5 separate regions of the Homo sapiens genome follow, and all the other regions are linked to region 2. The links are contacts of gene promoters, found by promoter capture Hi-C in blood cells and fetal thymus (Javierre and others, 2016). All regions are on one chromosome and are shown on one strand. The core of a region is centred on a gene start or on the middle of the fragment in contact, and the rest is flanking DNA. Distances in the headings are between cores, read along the strand shown. Region 1 overlaps STAU2 (staufen double-stranded RNA binding protein 2). Region 2 holds the start of GDAP1 (ganglioside induced differentiation associated protein 1). Region 3 overlaps STAU2 (staufen double-stranded RNA binding protein 2). Region 4 overlaps STAU2 (staufen double-stranded RNA binding protein 2). Region 5 overlaps UBE2W (ubiquitin conjugating enzyme E2 W).

What was found. The method cuts DNA at HindIII sites, captures the fragments that hold promoters and counts their contacts. A CHiCAGO score of 5 or more calls a contact.
Region 1: a contact is called between a fragment that was not itself captured here and the fragment with the promoter of GDAP1 in region 2, in 11 of 17 cell types (naive B cells, activated CD4 T cells, total B cells and 8 more). The highest score is 13.3, in naive B cells.
Region 3: a contact is called between a fragment that was not itself captured here and the fragment with the promoter of GDAP1 in region 2, in 1 of 17 cell types (fetal thymus). The highest score is 5.5, in fetal thymus.
Region 4: a contact is called between a fragment that was not itself captured here and the fragment with the promoter of GDAP1 in region 2, in 1 of 17 cell types (fetal thymus). The highest score is 5.6, in fetal thymus.
Region 5: a fragment that was not itself captured here is called in contact with the fragment with the promoter of GDAP1 in region 2 in 1 of 17 cell types (total B cells); the score reaches 6.4 in total B cells.

What each region holds. Positions count from the first base shown.
Region 1 is chr8:73,678,172-73,681,641 of GRCh38, forward strand. All of the region lies in intron 5 of STAU2 (staufen double-stranded RNA binding protein 2), which reads right to left. Among named protein-coding and RNA genes, the nearest start is that of STAU2, 67 kb to the right of the region's middle. The HindIII fragment of the contact is 2,551 bases long and covers 645-3,195 here.
Region 2 is chr8:74,348,787-74,352,147 of GRCh38, forward strand. It overlaps GDAP1 (ganglioside induced differentiation associated protein 1), which reads left to right and starts at 1,617. Exons shown (of 6, transcript NM_018972.4): 1 at 1,617-1,792; 2 at 2,488-2,680. The coding sequence starts at 1,676. RefSeq lists an enhancer at 1,630-1,859. The HindIII fragment of the contact is 8,708 bases long and covers 1-2,447 here.
Region 3 is chr8:73,662,582-73,665,944 of GRCh38, forward strand. All of the region lies in intron 6 of STAU2 (staufen double-stranded RNA binding protein 2), which reads right to left. Among named protein-coding and RNA genes, the nearest start is that of STAU2, 83 kb to the right of the region's middle. RefSeq lists a silencer at 2,893-3,187. The HindIII fragment of the contact is 9,464 bases long and covers 1-3,363 here.
Region 4 is chr8:73,716,680-73,720,052 of GRCh38, forward strand. All of the region lies in intron 3 of STAU2 (staufen double-stranded RNA binding protein 2), which reads right to left. Among named protein-coding and RNA genes, the nearest start is that of STAU2, 28 kb to the right of the region's middle. The HindIII fragment of the contact is 155 bases long and covers 1,438-1,592 here.
Region 5 is chr8:73,833,772-73,836,772 of GRCh38, forward strand. The region is part of intron 1 of UBE2W (ubiquitin conjugating enzyme E2 W); the gene reads right to left. It also overlaps the pseudogene RN7SL760P. Among named protein-coding and RNA genes, the nearest start is that of UBE2W, 44 kb to the right of the region's middle. The HindIII fragment of the contact is 1,733 bases long and covers 430-2,162 here.

The sequences.
Region 1 (3,470 bases), core at 670-3,169, 670 kb before region 2:
CATGTCAAACTGAGCTTCCTAAAATACTCCTTTAAATGCATCATGCACTGCTCATGAATATTAATTCCTCCCAGCTACGTATAAAACTTAATCTCGTAAAGCTGGCATTCAAGTCGTCCCAATTCACTCACTAACTACATCTCCAGTCTTACCTCCTACTAGTCATTTACCTGCTCTAATTAAAAACCATCTATAAAATTTTTTTTTTACCAAATCCATTGTCCAGATTCCTACTTCAAAGCCTTTCCTCATAGTATTCCCTCTGGCTAAAATATTCTTTCCTCTCATCTATAACTGCCTACTTTTCGGTCAAGGCCTGTATCTTACTTCAACTACTTCAGTCCATGTTTATCATTACCTGTAATACTGATGGCTGTTATTGTCTACTTGGCACTTAATCTTTACCATCAAATTACGTGTTCATATATAAGACTGTAAGACACTCACTGAAAGGGACAATGTTTTATTTCTCTTAGATATGTAAAAAGCAAGTGTTAAATATATCATGGTGGTGGTATGCTACTAATGATCAACCAGTATTCTGAAGAGGCTTTTAAAAATTAAAGAAATGGACAATCTTTTAGGAACTTCAAAATGAAGAGAATAAGTTTTTTTTCTATTGTAATAATATTTTGGCTTATTTAAGCTTAATAAATACTGCAATCAGTTGAACAGAAGCAGAGACTTGCAATCAGAAAGCCATGGATTCTGCAGAGTAGTCCTTGAAAGAGCAGAGAATGTCAACCTAGCACAGACCACATGAGAATGAAACAAGTGTCTATGTGATTTGATTATGAATATAACCAAGTAGAGAATGATTAAATACATTTTAGAGTTATTGTTGACAGGCACAAAATCTTTCTTAACCTCCATAACAAAAATATCTAAGGCGAAATTAATATTGACTAGAAGGTAACCACTTGAATTAATCAGTTAACAAATGAATGAGTAAATGGATATATGGCTGGTACTAAAGTTATAGTAATTCCATTAACCTAATGTTATCAATTAATACACTATGTCCAAAATACAGGTTTGCCTTTCCCAATAGATAACGGGACATATAGATTCACTGAGGTCACCCGGAGAAAATGATGGATATCAGGCAGGACTAACTTGAGGCTCCCACTCAGGACAAAACAGCATGTGGAGACTCACAGTGTAAACTCTGCTCCAAGAACCACCACAAGAACATACCAGGAAAACTGAAAGAATTCACAGACCCTTTGAAAGAAGCAGCTTGCCGCTGCAAACTCCATGAGACAGCCAAAACACCGTGAGTGCCCAAAGTGTGAGAGGGGGAAAGTCTGCCTCCAAACACACATCCTCACTGGGGAACCTGAAAATCCAGATCACAGAAGAATTTAACCTTACCTAGGACTGAAACAAATTTAGAGAGCTGAGCGAAATATAAAAGTAGAAGAAGCAGGCCAGGAATGGTGGGTCATGCCTGTAATCCCAACACTTTGGGAGGCCAAGGTGAGTGGATCGCTTGAGCCCAGTTTGAGACAAGCCTGGCTAATATGGTGAAACCCTGTTTCTACTAAAAATACAAAAAAAAAAAAAATTAGCTGGGCAAGGTGGTGCACACCTGTAATCCCAGCTACTTGGGAGGCTGAGGCAGGAGAATTGCTTGAGCCCAGGAGGCGGAGGCTGCAGTAAGCCAAGATCAACGCCACTGCACTCCAACCTGGGTGACAGACTGAGACTCCACCTAAAAAAAAAAACAAAACAAAAACAAAAACAAAAACTAGAAGCAGCAGCGATAAGAGACCCCTGTAGACACTCCCAGTCCCTAGGGAAGCCATTTTTTTTTTTTTTTTTTTTTTTTTTACTTTCATCTCACAGTGGTCCTTGGGGAAGGCAGTCAGTGGAACTAGGGAAGTACCACAGTGAGAAAGACTTCTAGCTGAACGCTGTCATAATTTTGACTGAATGCAAATTTTCCTGGGCAGAATCTGGGTGGGGGGTGGGGGAGGAGGTGGGAATAGGGGGCCGGCGGGAATAGGGGGCCAATGGAAAGTACAGATATGAGAACAGAAGCCACTGCAGGCATGGAAGGGCAAGGCCTGAAAGCCCTGCTTGCTTTCTTAGCAGGAAGACTTCTAGCCTAGGGCAAATGCTTTTTCTGCAGACACTCCCCAATACCAGCCTGGAGTCCAGTAGCTCCACTGGGTAGCTAGACCCAGAAGAAAAATAACCATCGCTGCAGTTCAGCTCTCAGGAAGCCCCATTCATAGGGAAACGGGGAGAGAACCACATCAAGGGATCATCCCGTGGGATAAAAGAATCTGAACAGCAGATTCAAGATCTTGCCTCTGACACAGTATATCCAAATGAGAAGAAACCAGAAAAACAATTCTGGTAATATGACAAAACAAGGTTCTATAACACCCTCAAAAGATCACACTAGTTCACCAGCGATGGATCCAAACCAGGAAGAAATATCTGAATTACCAGAAAAAGAATTCAGTAGGTCGGTTATTAAGCAGCTCAAGGAGGCACTAGAGAAAGGTGAAAGGCAACTTAAAGAAATTTTTAAAATAATACAAGACATGGATGAAAAAATTTCCAGAGAAATAGAATCATAAATAAAAAAGAGTCACAACTTCTGAAAATGAAAGACACACTTAGAGGCATGCAAAATATACTGCAAAGTTTCAACAATAGAATCAAACAAGCAGAAGAAAGAACTTCAGAGCTCAAAGACAAGGCCTAATCAAATTAACCCAATCTGACACAGACAAAGGAAAAAGAATTTTAAAAAATGAACAAAGCCTCCAAGAAGTTTGGGATTATGTTAAATGACCAAACCTAAGAATAAGTGGTGTTCCTGAGGAAGAAGAAAAATCTAAAAGTTTGGAAAACTTAGAGGGAATAATCAAGGAAAACTTCCTGGCCTTGCTGGAGATCTAGACATCCAAATACAAGAAGGTCAAGGAACACCCAGGGAATTCATTGCAAAAAGATCATCACCTAGGCACACAGTCAATCAGGTTATCTAAAGTCAAGTCAAAGGAAATAATCTTAAGATCTGTGAGGCAAAAGCACCAGGTAACCTATAAAGAAAAACCTATCCGATAAATAGCAGATTTCTCAGCATAAAATCTACAAGCCAGATGGAATTGAGGTCCTATCTTTAGCCTCCTTAAATAAAATAATTATCAGTCAAGAATTTTATGTCCAGTGAAACTAAGCTTCATTAATGACGGAAAGATAAAAGTCTTTTTCAGGCAAACAAATGCTGAGAGAATTTGCCACTATCAAGTCAGCACTAAAGAAGTAATAAAATGAATTATTAAATCTTGAAACAAAGCCTCAGAATACACCAAAACAGAACCTCCTTAAAGCATAAATCTCACAGGGCCTATAAAACAATAACACAATGAGAAAAAACAGACAAAAGGTATTGGGGCAACAACTAGCACAATGGATAGAATAGTACCTCACATCTTAATACTAATGTTGAA
Region 2 (3,361 bases), core at 367-2,866:
AGGGGCTTTTACACATATGTTTTTATCAATGGCTACATTCCAGGCAATACCCTAGGTGCTTTATATATATCCTTTCTTGAATTCCCACAGCCATCTGGGTAGGCATATAATTTTTATGTATCCATTTTTTACACACAATGAAGTCAAAGCTCAAGAAAGCTCAAGTTAGGGTAGAGCTAGAATTTAAACCCCACTCTGTCCGATTTCAAAGTTTTCCTCTTTCCGCTCTTACTCTTAAGTGTGAACTGATAAAAACAATTTTGGCAAGGAATTCACCTTTTCTATAGCACTTGAATTAACTGAAGGATATAAAAGACATTATGAAATCTTAAAAAATTATGAAAGAATTACAGAGAGTAACAAATGAAGTACTGTAAAGGCAAGGAAGAACCTCATGAGATTTTGTCTTTTCCAGGGGCCCTTCTCTGACCTGGGTTGGCTGCCTGCCCCTCCTTTCTCATAGTACTCTGTGTTCACCCTAAGACAGTTCTCATCTTTATTGTGATTGTCTATTTCCTTGGTCGTCTCTACTGCCAGATTATATCTTGAGTGTTAGATATTAGATTTCACACATCTTTATATTACCAGGAGCCAGCACAATGTCTGGAACAGTGTAGGTGCTCAATAAATATTTGCCAGATAAATTATACAGGCATTTATTCTATGGTCATATTTATACATATTACTGAAAGAGATTTTTAAAATCAACTTACTATATGATGCCAAATTTTTAAAGACATACAATAATAACTAGACTAATATAAAATTATGATTCTGACTATGGTTATAACAGAATGTTTATAAGACAACTGAACCTGTGACTAAGACTGAGTGCCTACAACGTGACAGGGTGTTCTGAGTGTTTAACATTTTATTATTAATTTTTCACAAAAATCTTATGAGGGAAACAATAAAATTATTATTCTTACTTAGAAAATGGAAAAACCAGGATATGAACTTAGGCAGTACTGTTGTAGAATTTTTGTGTTTAACAACTAGGCTATTTTATATCGCCATTGTTTATTAGCTGTTTATGACAAAAACAGTTTTTTTGCATGACTCCATAGTGGTATTTTTTTTTCTTTTACAAAGCACAGTTTAATTATCAAAATCAAGTACTTACTGTTTATACAAGACTATTCTCTAATCTACAGCAGTTAGTCAAATTTGTGGAATTAGTCCACTAATGTCATAGTAGCATCTTCTAATGAAAGCTCATAGATCCTTTTCCTGTTGCTTTGCTTGTCGACCGGAACTTCCTTTCCAACAAAGGAACAGGCTCCAAGAGCAACCCTCAGTATCTTGGGAAATTGCTGCTTTTATACCTGAGCAACCTCCAAACCGAAGAGTAATTTGCTATCATCATTCTTCCTTACTGCCCTTCATAACCAGGGTCTCATATTTTTTATTTTTTCTTCTAAAAAAAAAAACAAACCCAAAAAACAACCGTTCAATTGCACCTCCCAGGTGCACTCCCAGGCTTGCCAGGGGCTTTCCAGTCGCAGACCCCGCGTGTTCGCAGACTCTGCCGCCGGCGAAACTACATTTCCCAGCGGGCCGCGCGCCCTCCTTCCGGCAGGTACCCCTCAAAACCCGGAAACGCCTTGCGGGGCAGTGTGGGAGGGAGAAGTCCAGGGCGGACAGGCTGGGCGCACCCGTGCTCGCGCACCCCAAGATGGCTGAGAGGCAGGAAGAGCAGAGAGGGAGCCCGCCCTTGAGGGCGGAAGGCAAGGCCGACGCGGAGGTTAAGCTCATTCTGTACCATTGGACGCATTCCTTCAGCTCTCAAAAGGTACAACAGGCCTTGGCGGCGGAGGGTGGCGCGGATCGGGCTTCAGCACTGGGACAGCTCCTTCTGAGTCCCGCCCAGGGAAGCCGGTCCACCTAGAAATCCGCCTCCAGTGTCCTGACCCCGGGCAGGCGCTCCCTCCAGGCGGGGACGCGCCCGGGTGGGGAGCGGGGAGAATCGATCGGAGATGATCCTATGTGGCTATGGCCCAGGCTCCGCCTCTCGCGAAATGCGACAAAAAAGCATCATTTTCAGTATTTGGTCTGGAGGCCTTGCCTGCTGGTCTTCGGAGAGAGGCAGAGGGAGGTGCCTTTGTGGACCCTCATAATCTGCGATCTCTTCTTTTGCTCTCTCGCATTCACTGTCTTCAGCAAGAGCTGATGTACCTACATGTCAGGTTCTTGTCTGGGGAGGACCCATAATCAGGTTTAGGACACCGAGAAAGTGGTAGTGATGAGGAGGGTGACTGTTTAATGAATACAGTCAGAATCATTTCATTACTTATTTTGTGTTCTTCTCTTAATTTGTTGAGTATTGTTCTTTCCTTACTTGTTAATTCCAGGAATAGGAATTGTTAAAACGACTGTTGAAAATGTCGGTAACACAGGGAAGCCCAGAAAGGCTGCTTAGCGGTGTCCAGGGAAGTCATTTAATTGAAAGCTTACATGTGTTGTAGTAACCAGTGTGAACTCTTCCAGGTGCGCTTGGTAATTGCTGAAAAGGCATTGAAGTGCGAGGAACATGATGTAAGTCTGCCCTTGAGTGAGCACAATGAGCCTTGGTTTATGCGTTTGAACTCAACTGGAGAAGTGCCTGTCCTTATCCACGGGGAAAACATAATTTGTGAGGCCACTCAGATCATTGATTATCTTGAACAGACTTTCCTGGATGGTAATGTTAAGGCTACTTGCGATTTCTTGGATTTACTTTCAACACAACTATGTGTTCCCTTTCTCTTTTTCTCTCTCTCCTCTCTCTCTTTCTCTTGTGTCATGATGGTGGTTTGGGATTAAAAACCTTTTCCATTTCCATAAGCACACAAATATCAAATAGGTCAATAACAAATTTTGTATAGGCTAGTGTAATGCTATTTAAAATAATTTAATGCAAAATACAAATGTTAATGTTGAAACTTAAAAAAATTCACTTGCAAAAAACTGCAAATGTGTGGTTTGTGTTGGTGATTTCTTAGTCTTAAATTCATAATATTCTAAATGTGCACTGTGACGATTTCATCTAATATACCAAATGGTTTCACCTTAAAAACAAGAGGGAAAAAAGAGCAATAAATCTTAAAGGAGAATAGAATGTTAGTATACCTGAGTTCTTTGCCCCAGTCACTTCTGAATTGTTTGAATTTTATATCTTTACTAAGGAATTATAGGGCTTAAATTTGTATAGTGCATTTAGGTAAATCATTTATTAACAGCTTGTTATGTGTCAGACATTTTATAATTTCTTCAATAATGTCTTCAAAAGTATCTGTCTGAGACAGGCATGGTAGACAAGTTATTCCCATTATGTAAATGAGGAGAAAGCAACAGGGTTGCCCAAAGTAATATAGCTATTGTA
Region 3 (3,363 bases), core at 34-2,533, 690 kb before region 2:
GTCAAGGTTCAGGGGTTTTTGTTGTTGTTGTTGTTGTTGTTGTTGTTGTTTTTGAGACAGAGTTTCACTCCTGTTGCCAGGCTGGAGTGCAATGGCACAATCTCAGCTCACCACAACCTCTGCCTCCCGGGTTCAAGCAATTCTCCTGCCTCAGCCTCCTGAGTAGCTGGGGTTACAGGCATGCGCCACCATGCCAGGCTAATTTTGTATTTTTAGTAGAGACAGGTTTTCTCCATGTTGGTCAGGCTGGTCTCGAACTCCTGACCTCAGGTAATCCACCTGCCTCAGCCTCCCAAAGTGCTGGGATTACAGGCATGAGCCACCGCGCCCAGCCCAGGTTCTTTTTTTTTTCTGTCAGAAAGGCCAATTATTTTACTATTATTTGTTGGAAAGAGTATCCTTTCCCCATTAGCACCTTCACTGGAATTAATTTTGAAAGAATTAAATTGTTCATATATGGATTGATCTATTTCTTGCCTCCATATTCCAGAGATCAGCAAACTTCTGTAAAGGGCCCAATATAAAATATTTTGGGCTTTGCAGGCCATATGATCTATTACATCTATTCGACTCTGCTGTTGTAACACAAAAGCAGACTATAAATAAGCAAGTATATACAACACATAAGCAAGTGACTGTGGCTGTGTTCCAATGACACTTTACTGACACACACTAGAATTTCAATTTCATCTAAATGTCATGTGTTGTAAAATATCATTTTATTTTTGATGTTTTTCCAACCACTTGCAAATGTAAAAAACATTACTTAGCTTGCAAGCCATACAAAAACAGGCAAGCCAGACGTGACCCATGGGCTATAGTTTGCCAACTGCTGTTTTATTCTGTTCCACTGATCCATATATCTGTCCCTATGTTAATTTTCTGCTGTCTTGATTATTGTAGCTTTATAGCAAATCTTGAAGTCAGGTAGTGTGGGCCAGCCAATTTTGTTCTTTTCAAAATTGCTTTGGCTACTGCAAAAACAATTTGCAGTAGCCAAATTGTTTTTTTGCATCTCCAAATGTCAGCACTACTTTATTAATTTTACCAAAAAAAAAAAAACTCTACTATGATTTTTGTTACAACTGCATTGCATCTTCACATCAACTTTGAGAGAACTGAAATCTTAAATAATAGAGTCTTCTTTAATTTGAGCAGTATTTTATAGCCTTCATTATACAGGTTGTGTACCTATTTTATTAAATTTATCTCTGAATATGTTTTCACGCTATTTAATTCCCCAACTGCTCATTACTATTTACTAGAAATACCACTGATTTTTGTATACTAACCTTGCAACTTGTGGCCTTACTAAATTCACTTATTCAGTAGCTTTTCAGTACTTTTGATTTATTATTTTCTACATACAGAATCATGGTGTCTATGAAGATAGTTTTATATCTCCTATTCCAATATTCCCCCATTTGTTTCTTCTTATTGTTGCACTTGATAGAACTCAAGTATAATGTGGGGTTCTTTGTTGTTTTTTTGAGGTGGGGTCTCACTGCGTTGCCTAGGCTGGAATGCAGTGGCGATCACAGCTCACTGAAGCCTTGACTTCCCAGGCCCAGGCAATCCTCCCACCTCAGTCTCCCAAGTAGCTGGGACTAGAGGCACACGCCAACAGAGATGGGGTTTGGTCATGTTTCCCAGGCTGGCCTCAAACTCCTAAGCTCAAGCAATCTGCCCACCTCGACCTCCCAAAGTGCTGGGATTACAGGCATGAGCCACCGTACCAGTCCTTAAGTATAATGTTGAACAGAAGTGATAACAGTGTGTATTACTGCCTTGTTCCTGATCTTACAAGTATTCAGTCTTTCACTATAAAGCATAATGTTATCTGGAGGTTGTTTGAAGAAGCCCTTTATCAGATTAAGAAAGTTCTCTTCCATTCCTAGTTTGCTGAGTCTATATCATTAGTGAGCGCTGACTTCTGTCAAATGTTTTTTCTGCACCTAATGAGATACTGATATGGTTGTTCTCCTTTATTCTATTAATTGGGTTAATTACTTTGATTACTGAATACTAAATTCATCTTGCTTTCCTAGAATAAACTTCATTTAATCATAATGTTATTTAAATTCGGCTGAATTTAATTTGCTGATATTTTGTTAAGAATTTTTATCTGGCTGGGCATGGTGGCTCATGCCTGTAATCCCAGCACTTTGGGAGGACGAGGTGGGCAGATCACTTGAGGTCTGCAGATCAAGACCAGCCTGGGCAACATGTTGAAACCCTGTCTCTACCAAAAATGCAAAAAATTAGCCAGGTGTGGTGGCATGCGCCTGTAGTCCCAGGTACTCGGGAAATTGAGGCATGAGAATCGCTCGAACCTGGGAAGCAAAAGTTGCAGTGAGCCAAGATCAGGCCACTATACTCCAGCCTGGGCAACAGAGCAAGACTGTCTCAAAAAATAATAATAATAATTTTTATATCTGTGACCATGGGGGATACTGATCTTAAGTTCACTCTTCCTCATCCTTGCTTTGGTAACTTGTTCAAATTTTCTTCTCTGGTTTATGAGAGTTTTAAAAAGACATTTCTAATGCGTCTTTGTTATGGGTTTAGGTTAATTTCTCCCAAATAAAAAAAAATCCTAATTTAACATTAATGTTAATAATTTAACATTATTTTTAACAAAATATTTAAAAAGTTACCTTGCTGCCTATCTTTCAGTTCTACATCTATTCTATAAAGTGATATCTACATGAAGTAGAATCAGTTTAAGAGTTCTGACACACATTCCATGTGTAAAGCATATGAGAAAAGAGAAAAGAATATATTCCCCAAACCAAGGGATGTAGTATACAAAAGGCAAAGTTCTATATCTATTGAAACAAATTGGGCTTTTCACCACTTTATGCTTACTTCATTTATCCAAGAGAATTTAATGTTGTATACTTGGATGACTTTTTCCTATTGGGTTGAACATATGAAACTGACATATTTGTAGGTCAAAGAAACGTCAAATATTGGCAGTTTCATACGGTTTAACCTCTAATTTAATGGCCTTGGAATAGTAACCAAAGTGAGCTCACCCAGTCTGTATGTTGTTTGATCAGTATACAAGCACCATCTGGTGGCAGAAACCAAAACTGTAGGTTTGTAACTGTTCATATCACTGCTGGTACAAATACAGTCATCCCTAGGTTATCTGTGGGGAATTGTTTCCAGGACCTTCACCCTTACCCCCTACAGATACCAAAATCCATGGCTGCTCAAGCCCCTGATATAAAATGCTCAAGTCCCTGATATAAAATATTAATATTTTAATATTTGCATATAACCTATGCACATCCTCCCATATACATTAAGTCATCTCTAGATTACTTATAATATCTAATACAATGTAAATGCTATGAA
Region 4 (3,373 bases), core at 265-2,764, 630 kb before region 2:
ATGTCATCTGTATCTCCTGTGGTGAAGTGTCTGAATATTTTACTTTTGATTTTTTTTTCTTATTGCTGAATTTGAAGAGTTCTTTACACATCCTACATACAAGTTACTGATTAGACATATGCTTGGTAAAGATTTTCTTCTAGGCCAGGCGCGGTGGCTCACGCCTGTAATCCCAGTACTTTGGGAGGCCAAGGCAGGTGGATCGTTTTAGGTCAGGAGTTCAAAACCAGTCTGGGCAACATGGTACCCCGCCTCTATTAAAAATACAAAAAGTAGCTGGGCACGGTAGTGTGCGCCTGTGATCCCACCTACTCAGGAGGCTGAGGCACAAGAATCACTTGAGCCCAAGAGGTGAGGGGCTGCAGTGAGCCAAGAAGGTACCACTGCACTCCAGCCTGGGGAACAGAGCAAGACTCTGTCTCCAAAAAAAATAAATAAAGTAGTAGGAAAAAGATGAATTGCTAACAAAGTTGGAGCAAATGGACAGTCATCTTAGAAAATAATAAAGAGGAATCACTACGAAAAAAATAAAAATTTTTTTCCCAAACTGTGGCTTTTCTCTTTATTCTCTTACCAGTGTCTTTTAAAGAGCAGATTTTAATAGTCTAATTTATCAATTTTTATAGTTTGTACTTTTAATGTATATCTAAAAAATTATTACCTAACTGAGGTCTAAAAATTTTTTTCTCCTGTTTTCTTCCACGAACATTATAGTTTTAGGTTTTACATTTAAGTCCAGAAGCCATTTTGAGTTAGTTTTCCTATACAGCGCAAGGTATGAATCCATTTTTTGTATATCAATATCCAATTGTTTCCAACTGTGGAAAAGGCTACATTTCTCCCACTACATTGCCTTTATGTCTTTGTCAAAATTATTAGTTATCTACATATAAGGAGTTTATTTCTGGACTACCAATTCTGTTTCCACTGATCTATTTGTCTTTTGTTGTTGTTGTTGTTGTTGTTGTTGTTGTTGTTGTTGTTTTGAGACGGAGTCTCGCTCTGTCGCCCAGGCTGGAGTGCAGTGGCGCGATCTCAGCTCACTGCAACCTCCACCTCCTGGGTTCAAGCGATTCTGCCGCCTATTTACCTATTTTTACGCCAAACTATTTTACAGCTTTTAATTCTTGAAATCAGGTAGTGTTGGCTCCCACACTGTTCTTTTTCACAGTTGTTTAAAGTTCTTTAAATTTCCACATGAATTTTAGAATCACCCTGTGCAGTTCTATAAAAAAGCCTGCAAAGATTGAAATATAAGTCTCTTAAATCTATAATTTGGTGAAAATCAACATTTTAACAAAGTTGAGTATTCCAACCCATGAAAAGGATACACAGTCACTTCTCATTATTGAGATAATAATATGTCAATGACTGTTATGTGAATCAGCAATTATAGAGCCATTGCTCCCAGGGGAACTAACGTATTAGGTTCTTGCAAGCTTCTGCTGACATTTTTGTGAACTGATCATATGTCATGTTTTATGTGTTTCTGTTTAGAGACTTCTTGTTTAGTATGTATTACTAATATATGTTACTGATTCATTAACATTGAACTCATGTCCAATAGTACTGTTTAACTCCTGCCTGAATAAAGCTTATCTAATGCACATATATTCTCCGTAAGGCATATCAGAGCCTCCTGGTACTTAGAAACACTATATGGCACTTAAACATTACACTTTAAACATTTTAAACATCAAAATAACCATCTTTGTAAACATCAAAATAACCAACAAAAAGCACAAACATGCAAAAAATGCAGCACTAAATAAACCAAGAAAGGGCTACTTGCTTACAGTATGAAACCCAAAATAAGAAAGCAGAGCATTGTCTTGTTTGATCCCAGCTGGGTATATACATGTGCACTGGGTGATTCAAAATGTTTTGCCCCTGCAAGTGTCTGAGAATGACCACAAAAGCACTGCAAGTATTGGTTTTGGGGTTACAAATAAAAATTAGTGAGTAAGCCAATTCCTAGGTAAAGAATCCATGAATAATGAGAATCAACTGTATCTTATTCAGGTATCCTTTAATTTCTTGCAGCAGTATTTTGTAGTTCTCATTTTCTTTAACATATTTTGTTAGACTTATCTCTAAGTAGTTCATATTTTTGATGCTTTTGAAAATGCTACTCTTTTATTTTCATTTATGATTGTTCTCTGCTAATGTATAGAAACACAATTGGTTTTTGCATACTGCTCTTCTATCCTGCAACTCTGCTATAGTAATTTATTAGTTCTAGTAGGATTCCATCAGATTTTCTACATAGACAATCAGGTCATCTGTGAATAAGGACAGTTTTATTCATTTCTTTCCAATCTGAACACCATGCATTTCCTTCTCTTGCATGATGGCATGGGCTAGAACCTCCACGGCAACGTCAAACGGAACTGGTTAAAGTGGACATCCCGTCTTCTTTTTTTAAAATAAGTGTCCAGTTTTGGCCAGGTGTGGTGGCTCACGCCTGTAATCCCAGCACTTTGGGAGGCCGAGGCAGGTGGATCACAAGGTCAGGAGATCGAGACCATCTTGGCCAACCTGGTGAAACCCCGTCTCTACTAAAAAATACAAAAAAATTAGCCAGACATAGTGGCGGGTGTCTGTAGTCCCAGCTACTACAGAGGCTGAGGCAGGAGAATGGCACGAACTCACAAGGGGGAGCTTTCAGTGAGCCGAGATCGTGCCACTTCAGCCTGGGCAACAGAGCGAGACTGTCTCAAAAAAAAAGGTGTCCAGTTTTTCACCAATAAGTACAAGGTCAGCTAATAAGGTTTTTCATAGAAGCACATTAGCAGGCTGGGAAAGTTCACTTCCACTTCTAGTTTGCTGAGAGTCTTTATGATACTGAATATTAGATTTTATCAAATGATTTTTCTGCATCTATTGAGATGATCATGTGATTTTTGCTTTTTAGTTCATTAATATGTTAAATTACACTACTGATTTTTTGGAACACTAAACCAACCCCACATTCCTGGGATAAACCCCACATGGTTATGACATATTATCCTTTTAATAAACTGTTGAATTAGATTTGCTGAAACTTTGTTTAGATTTTTGCAATTATATTTATGAGACATACTGGTCTGTAATTTCCTTAAAATGTATTTGTCTGATTCTGGTATCCCAGTAATGCTGGCATCATGAGCCTTGTAAAAAATTCCTTCCACTTCAATATTTTTAAAAGCATATAAAATTGATATTATTTTTTCCTTAACTTGTATAATTCACCAGTGAAACTATCCGGACCTAGAGTTTTCTTTTTAAGTAGACTTTTACTACAATTTTTATTTCTTTAGCATATAAAAAGCTACTCAGGGCTAGGCATGATAGCTCATGTCTGTAACCCTACCACTTCAGGCCAAAGCAAGAG
Region 5 (3,001 bases), core at 46-2,545, 520 kb before region 2:
CAGAGACAGGGTCTCGCTATGTTGCCCAAGCTGGAGTACACAGGTGCAATCCCACTACTGATTGGCATGGGAGTTTTGACCTGCTCTGTTTCTGACCTGGATCGTTCACCCCTCCTCCTGAGACAACCTGGTGGTCCCTCGCTCCCGAGAGGTCACCATATTGATGCCGAACTCAATGTGGACACCCAATCGACATAGTGCATGACAGCCCAGAACTCCTGCCGCAGCTTTCCAAATAGCTGGGACAACAGGCACCTACACTACACCCAGCGTAAGTCTTTTCTTAAAGTGAAGAAGACAAGTATGGATATCTGTTCATTTCTTAAGAGTACTCTGCTTAAAAATTGGTTTCTGTTTTTTCTGGACAATGAAATATTACTATCAGTAAGTAATGTTTCTACGTCTTTTCAATTTATGTCACTTAAAATAAGCTTAGCCATCCAACACCACTACAGATAGAAAACTGTGTTGTGAATCACTGTAATGGACTTTAAATTTGCTTAAATAATTTGTTTTGAATAAAGACAAATTTATGCAAATTTCTGTTTGAACAAGGTTTTAATTATTTTCTACTGATATTCACAAATGAGGGTTCTGTGATCACGTACATTTTTTTAAAAACTGGGTCAAACAAAGAACTGGCTTCTTCAACAGAACTTTCCATATACTAACTTGTACAGTCATTGTCCAAAGGCAAGATGACATAAAGAGGTTTCCAAAAATAGCTGAGCACAGTGATGCATGCCTGTAGTCCCAGCTACTCAGGGGGCTGAGGCAGGAGAATTGTTTGAGTCTAGAAGTTGGAGTCCAGCCTGGGCAACACAGCAAGAACTTGTCTCTAATAACATTAAACAAGGCCAGGCACAGTGGCTCAAGCCTGTAATTCCAGCACTTTGGGAGGTCAAGGAGCATGTAATGCCTGAGGTCAGGAGTTCAAGACTAGCCTGGGCAACATGGCGAAACCTCGTCTCTACTACAAATACAAAAATTAGCTAGGAGTGGTGGCATGCGCCTGTAATCCCAGCTACTCGGGAGGCTGAGGCACAAGAATAGCTTGAACTCGGGAGGCGGAGGTTGCAGTGAGCCTAGATCACGCGAATGCACTGCAGCCTGGGCTATAGAGTGAGACTCCATCTCAATAAAATAAAATAAACAAAAAACTCCCAACAACAACAAAAAAGAGGTTTCCAAAGATAATAGAACCCTTTGTAGAGCGTCTCAAGCCTTGTTTCAAGGACCATATTTTGGGAAACACTGCTGCAGAAATCTTCCAGATCTTGAGAACTTTACTAAGTCAAGAAGGATAATCCTTCTTAGTAGGAGAAGCAAGAATATAAAGGAGAATCAATCTGCATAACTACCAAGCGAAACACAAGACAACAAAAGCAAACTAAACTAAAAAAGCGCTTTATTGGTATATCATCCCTGGTCTCCTGAACATAATGGAAAAGGGTTCTATAGAAAAAAAAAAAAAAGTTTCTCCTTACCCTTAGACTTCTTTCATCTCCACAAAGGAAGGGACCTATGATAGCCAACTTTCAAGATAATTCCCAACAAACTCTAAAGGTCCTAGTATTCACACCCTTGTGTAGTTCCCTCCCTCAGAGCTGATCTGTGTGACCAATGGAATACAGCAGAAATGGTGTGTCACTCCCAAGATTAGATTATTTTAAAAACTATGGTTTCTGTGGCCGGGTGCGATGGCTCATGCCTGTAATCCCAGTACTTTGGGAGGCCGAGGTGGGTGAATCACCTGAGGTCAGGAATTCGGGACCAGCCTGACTAATATGGTGAAAACCTGTCTCTACTAAAAATACAAAAAATCAGCTGGGCGTGGTGGCATGCGTCTGTAATCTCGGCTACTCGGGAGGCTGAGACAGGAGAATTGCTTGTACCCGGGAGGCAGAGGTTGCAGTGAGTGAGATCAAGCTGCTGCACTCCAGCCTGGGCGAGAGAGCGAGACTTTGCCTCAAAAAACAACAAAACAAAACAAAACACTATGGTTTCTGTCTTGGTAATTCTCTCTCTCAAATCACTTGCTCTGGAGGAATCAAGCTATCATGTTGAGAACAGCCTAATTCAGAGGCCTTCATAGTGAGGAACTGAAACCTCCTACCAATAACCATGTGATGATTTGTAGGCAAATCCTTCAATTCAAATCAAGCTTTCAGATGACTACTATCTTAGCCAGTACCTTACCTGCAAACTCAAGAGGGACCCTAAGCCAGAATCAAACAACTATGCCTCTGATTCCTGACCCTCGGAACTGTGAAATAACATTTGTTGTTTTAAATCGCTAAGTTTAAGGGTTTGTTACGCACTGATAGATAATACAGGACCACTGCTCCATCCTCCCCTCCATCCCAGAAGGGACTGTCATCTACTTCCTCATCAATATCACTAAGTCACAATCTAAGACATTCACTGGACCATGCTTTTTTACTGAGGGGGTGGAATTATTACATTAAAAAAAGACAATTCATGCCAGCCCCCAGCCTTCTTAGCTACTAGGCAATAAACTGCCTTGCATATTCACATCCCCTGAAATAGTGAGAGAGAAGGGCCAGCATTTGGGGGGTTAAATGAGTACATACTACATTCACAAATAAAACATTTTTTAAAAAGATACAAACAGTGAAAGGTCAAGCAATGTGTAGTATCTGTTCTGCAGATTCACAAAAACAGAATTCACCCTTAGTTGCATTCTTCCCAGAACAACAGTTCATTAGACAGGGCAGGAAAAATCCTGAAGTCGTGATTCTAAAAAACTAGTTCTAAGTTTCCCAAATGTAGACATGGAAGAGCTGAAAGAAAATGATTTAAAGAGCTGCATGTAAAGATAAATGAAAATTCACATTTTGTTTGTAAATATGAAGAACTAGTATGACCTTTTAGAGGTCACACAATCCAGAAAGCTATAATCACATGAGGCTGCATTCACCTATAAATGAAGACAAAGTATTAACAAATTTGTTAAGAAACACTAGTATTTAGGACAGAA